Regions from separate parts of the Homo sapiens genome. Here region 2 is linked to region 1. Evidence: promoter capture Hi-C in 16 types of primary human blood cells and fetal thymus (Javierre and others, 2016). All regions are on one chromosome and are shown on one strand. The core of a region is centred on a gene start or on the middle of the fragment in contact, and the rest is flanking DNA. Distances in the headings are between cores, read along the strand shown. Region 1 holds the start of ZNF225 (zinc finger protein 225). Region 2 overlaps ZNF585B (zinc finger protein 585B).

Region 1 (2,960 bases), core at 306-2,805:
TAAAAAAAAAAATTCAAAATAATTTTACAATGCGGAAATCTGACAAACATGACTTTAGCCAAGTGAACAAAGTTGAGATCACCAATGAAGTGACAAACTGACATATGGCCCCTGTTATGTTGCAATAAGAAATTTACCACTTCAGGCTGGGCACGGTGGCTCATGCCTGTAATCCCACACTTTGGGAGGCCAAGGCGGTTGAATCACCTGAGGTCAGGAGTCTGAGACCAGCCTGGCCAACATGGTGAAATCCCTTCTCTACTAAAAATACAAAAATTAGCCGGATGTGGTGGCAGGCACCTGTAATCCCAGCTACTTGGGAGGCTGAGGCAGGAGAATAGCTTGAACCCAGGAGGTGGATGTTGCAATGAGCTGAGATCGTGCCATGCACTACAGCCTGGGCGACAAGAGCGAAACTCCGTCTCAAGAAAAAAAAAGAGAGAGAGAGATTTACCACTTCTGTGGTATTCCAGCAAAAAATGCATATTTTGAAGTTAAACGTGAAATACATCAGAAAAACTCCAAATGAACATCTTTGACCAAAATAACTTCATCTATACTCTTCAAAAATAACAAGGATAAAATACCAAGAAAAAACGATGAAAGCTATGCTATCTTTCAAGATTAAAGACTAGAAAAACATGACAACTGAAAGCAACACCCATGCCCGAAGACACATCCTATACACTCTCGGTTGGGGTGAGCATCTCTGTCAAAGAAAAAAGCCAAGGATCACTCACGTAGAGCTTTGCCCTCAGAAGCCAAGAAGTCCCTCCCTGCAGCTCTTTTGGAAAGGTCGGGCTGGGTAAGGAGAAGGCTGTGAAACACTCTGACCGTGGTCGCCGTGCCCCATAAAAGTTAAATGCTCCTCTCCCCTCCTGGAAGTGGATGCAACCCTCGCCTTCCTAAAAGAGAGGTCAGAAGGCGTCCGGGATCACCCAGCGTCTTGCAGGAATCAGGGAGAAGGGCCGGTGCCCCTGCAGCTGGAGTTTCACCCCACCCGGGGACCTGACAGGCTTCGTGGGAAATTAACAAGAGACCACCAGTCACCAAGTGACAGGGGCTGCTTTAAGGCTCTCATTTGTGTTACCGCTTTCAGTTCCCAAAACGATTCTATTAGGATGGTCCTAAACTCCCCATCTTAAAGAACTGTAACGGGAGACCCAAGGAGATTAAGTAACATCCCAGCGTTTTATCGCGAGGAAGTGGCCACGCGCGTGGGGTGCAGGGAGGCCGAGTGGGCGAGCTCAGAGCCCCGGAGACCCTAAAACCAGGCGAGACGCGACCCGACCAAGTCCCAAACACCCCGGGGACGCGAGGAGAGCCCCAAGCCCAAGAAGGCTCCACTGACGAGAACGAAAACAGCGGCCCCGCTCCGCCAAACCTCTGCTCTCCGACGAGGTTTCTTTTCCCCTAATTCGATCACCAGTTCGTTAAGGATCCAATGCGTAGGTCCAGGAAATTCAGAAGGGTCTCGCGGAACTGACCCAAACTACCAGGGACAAAACTGCAGCAACCTCACAGTAACGGAGCGGAAGTGGCCCGCTACTCCACTGAGTGTCTGGACTCCACTTCCCAGAATTCCTGAGACAAACTGACCGCGACGACCCCGAGCGTCTGGACTACACTTCCCAGAATTCCCTGGGATCCACCTGCCGGAGTCAAATTGACCGAGACTCCACTGAGCGTCTGGACTACATTTCCCAGAAATCCCCTGATTCGCCTGCCGGAGCCAAGCTGACCGCTACTCCACTGAGCGTCTGGACTACCATTCCCAGAATTGCTTGTATCCTCCTTCTGGAGCCAGTGTGTACGACTCCACAGAGCATTTGGATTACACTCCTCCGAATGCTGAAGGAAAAACGCTCAAAATCTCATTCTTCAGGGGGAAGCGTTGCCACTCCGAGGTGCCCACTGGGAACGAATCCCAAAGCCACGAGCGCCTGCCTAGTGGGGAATGTGAACTGTTATCCTGAGAGTCGTCCTTCTCTCTCCCTGGTCCAGGACAGAAAATACTGAATAGACAGGAATTTCTGAAGTCTAAACGCCTCCAATGATAACAGGAGTGTTATTGGAAAGGGAACAAGCGAGAAGACACAGTCTTCGAGGAGTTAAGTTTTGCTAATCTAATGGTAAGAAATGGTTTCTAAATGTAGTTTTAATTTGTATTTGTTCTTTTGTAAATAAAGTGGAACATCCGTGCATATTTTCCGTTGCCACTATTATAGTCTTTGTGAATTGGTCAAATAGTTTGCCCACATTTCTATTGAGTGTTTAGTTTTTTCCCCTCCGTTAAGTATTATTTACATACTCATATTAACATTGTATCAAATATTGCTCAACCAAAAAGCTTTTTTCCTTTGACTTGTTTTTCGCTATGCAAAACGTTTTTAACGTGGTCGTTTTATTATTTAAAAAATATTTTTGAGGTGTAATTCACAAAACAAAATTATTTTAAGGCACATAATTCAATGGCAATGGCATCTAGTACGAATACAGTGTTGTTAATATATACGAGTTAAGAAGCCATCACTTAGGCAGATAGGGTATGGGAGCCCTCGGTAAGGCTTTTCTTTTTAATGAAAAGCAGCCCCAAATTATTTCCCTTCCTAAGGAAGAGCAGCCTGTAAAATCCAGCTGCCGCAGACATAGATACCAGCAGTTGTGCCAATCATGTTAAAGATGGCGGCTCCATCTTCCCTTCTCTTTGTCAGCCACGTGCACAGTAAGAAGCTGGCAAGATGGGCCAATCAACTGGGAAGCCTATTTGCATAAGAAGATTAGGGTGGGGCGACCAGCCTTCCCCACGCACTATGTAAACGTCATAACTGATCGAACCAATCTATGACCCCTATGTAAATCAGACACTGCCTCCTCAAACTGGTCTGTAAAACTCAGCACATTCACTGCCAGCCGACCCTTTTCCGCTCGGAGACCCCTTCCTCTATGGAGGAACCCGT
Region 2 (2,960 bases), core at 119-2,618, 6.9 Mb after region 1:
CTTCACAGTATCTGATGGCCCATCACATGCTGCTCAACATCTTAGACCAATGTCTGCTCACCCATTACCTCCCTTCACCTCATCCAGCACTGTATCTGAAGCTTCACTATTCTTCCTTCAGTTTTGGATATTTTGTGATACAACATTATCCCCAACTTAGGACAATGTCAGCTGACTCTCAGGAGGGTGCCTGGAGATCACCTCTTCCTTCCTAACATACCCTAGAACAAGGTCTGGTCCCCTTCATTATTCCCATTTTACCTTACTCCTAAGTGTATCACTCCTCATGAATTCCAGGAAATATGGAGGAAAACACATTTCACTGTACATGACTTTCAATAATTTCTCCTTTATATTTATTGTAACGTGATATTTTAGTGCTGACATATATATGTATATGTATGCCCATTTATATAAAAGACTAGTTTTTAGAGAAATTTTAGGTTCACAGCAAAATGGGGCAGAAGGTACAGAGATTTCCCATATATCCCCTACCCTCACATATACACAGCCTCCCCCATCATCAACATCCCCCTTCAGAGTGGTACATTTGTTACAATTGATGAAACTACATTGACACTATCGGCCAAAGTCCATGGTTTAATTAGGGTTCAGTCTTGATGTGCATTCTGTGGGTTGAGACAAATGAATAATGACATGTATGCATTATTACAGAAGGATAAAGAGCCGTTTCACTGTCCCAATAATCCTCTGTGTTTCGCCTACTCCTCTAAACTCCTGGCTATTTTCTTTTGTCTCCATAATTTTGCCTCTGAACCATAAAGTATGCAGCCTTTTCAGATTGATTTGTTTCACTTAGTAATGTGGATTTAAGTTTCTTCCATGTCTTTTCGTAGCTTGCTAGCTCTTTTTTTTTTTTTTTTCTCATTGAATAATATGCTATTGTCTGGAAGTACCATGACTTATTTATCCATTCACCTACTGAAGGACACCTTAATTGCTTCCAAGTTTTGTTGATTATGAATAAAGATGCTATAAACACCTGTGTGCAGGTTTTTGTGTGAACATGACTGTAATATTTTAAGGTCGTATTTATTGAGGTATAATTTACATACAGTAATATTCACCCTTTTTAGTGTGGAATTCTCAAAGTTTTGACAATTACATCATGCAGTCAATACCACAGTCAAGACAGAGAACAGTTCCCTCACTTCCCTACATTTCCTCCTATTACTTTTTAGTCCATCCCTTTGCCCACCCCCAGGCCTTGATGATCACAAGCCCATTTTCTGTCTGTATAATTTTGCCTTTTCCACATGTTGTATAAATGGAGACATCCTGTGTGTGTCTCTGTCTGTTTATATATGTGTATGTATCTCTCTTTTTGAGTCGGACTTGTTTCATTTAATGTGATGTATTTGCGATCTATCCATATTGTTATATGAGATAAAAATGGAAAATAAGGTGATGAAAAGATGCTCGACATCTTTAATTTTCAAGAAAATGAAAATGAAAACCACAATGAGATACCTGTACACACCTTTTAGCATGCCTAAAAATAAAGACATAATGCTGAGAGTTGGCAACAATGCAGAGCAATGGAAACTTTCATGCATTGTTGGTAGAAATGTAAAATGTTACATTCACTTTGGGCAAAAAGTTTGGCAGCTTTTTTTTTTTTTTTTGAGATGAAGTTTTGCTCTTATTGCTCAGGCTGAAGTGCAATGGCATGATCTCGGCTCCCCACAACCTCCACCTCCCAGGTTCAAGCGTTTCTCGTGCATCAGCCGCCCAAGTAGCTGGGATTACAGGCATGCACCACCACGCCTGGCTAATTTTATATGTTTTTAGTAGAGGTTTAGTTAAGGGTCTCTCCATGTTGGTCAGGCTGGTCTCGAACTCCTGGTCTCAGGTGATCTGCCCGCCTCAGCCTCCCAAAATGCTGGGATTACAGGCGTGAGCCACCATGCCCAGCCTTGACAGCTTCTTATACTGTTAAACATACACTTATCATATGACCCACCAATCCCTCTCCTAGGTATTTGCCCTAGATAAGTGAAAAATTGTTTATATAAAAACACGGGTACTCAAATTTCACAGCAACTGTATAATTGCCAAAATTAGGAAACAACCCAAATGTAACAGTGGGTGACTAATTAAACAGTGGGTGACTAATTAAACATCTATACAATAGAATACTACCCCAACATGAAAAGAAGTGATTTATTGACACTGGCTGCAACATGGATGAATCTCAGAAGTACTCTTTTATTTTACTATGTGATAGTTTAAATGACATTTGAAAAATTATTAGATACTAGATTATAAATATAGATTTATGTATTTTATTTTATGTGTGCATATCATACACTGTATATTGTGTTGACAGTATGTTATAGCACATTATGATATTATACCTACTACAAAATAGTTTCCATTTTATATAATATATAGTATCGTATGATTATATAATTTTTATATTTTATATATCAAACTTTCATGTAACATTTTAGTTATTTCTACTTTTACATAATCACATTTAATGTTTATAGTATAAAGTTATAACTATAATAACGGGTCATAGGGTTCAGACAGCCTGCAGTTGGAGGTGGTCAATATTTTTATTGTTTGTCAAGAATCCCAATTCTGGCTGATTTAGCACCAAGGAAGCTTTCTCCAGCTTTGGGCTTTTGCACCAACTGTGTTCTCTGGGCATACACTGCTTCCCCAGTGCCCATGCATCTTGCTTTCTTCCCCCATCTTTGAAAAGCATCCACCCCACCATTTGTATCTGAAGTAACACATCCATTGGGGTCACTTTCTGCTGTATTATTTTGTATATATTTGTGTTGCAGGCATCACCATCTGATTTGATATTAAATATTTCTTTTTTTTTGGTTTTTCATCCAACCTTTCCACTAGACCTCATGAGACCTGGACTTGGTCTGTCTTGTTTCTGCTGTGTCCAAGGCACCCAACATGGTGCCAGCACAAAGCAG

The links. The method cuts DNA at HindIII sites, captures the fragments that hold promoters and counts their contacts. A CHiCAGO score of 5 or more calls a contact.
Region 2: a contact is called between a fragment that was not itself captured here and the fragment with the promoter of ZNF225 in region 1, in 7 of 17 cell types (naive B cells, non-activated CD4 T cells, naive CD8 T cells and 4 more). The highest score is 13.0, in naive B cells.

Annotation. Positions count from the first base shown.
Region 1 is chr19:44,111,994-44,114,953 of GRCh38, reverse strand. It overlaps ZNF225 (zinc finger protein 225), which reads right to left and starts at 1,555. Exons shown (of 5, transcript NM_013362.4): 1 at 1,385-1,555. It overlaps ZNF225-AS1 (ZNF225 and ZNF224 antisense RNA 1), which reads left to right and starts at 1,771. Exons shown (of 2, transcript NR_033341.1): 1 at 1,771-2,132. RefSeq lists an enhancer at 1,102-1,801 and a silencer at 1,494-1,844. The HindIII fragment of the contact is 4,811 bases long and covers 1-2,352 here.
Region 2 is chr19:37,179,621-37,182,580 of GRCh38, reverse strand. ZNF585B (zinc finger protein 585B) reads left to right here. Exons shown (of 5, transcript NM_152279.4): 5 at 1-1,002. Among named protein-coding and RNA genes, the nearest start is that of ZNF585A, 8.4 kb to the right of the region's middle. The HindIII fragment of the contact is 2,530 bases long and covers 104-2,633 here.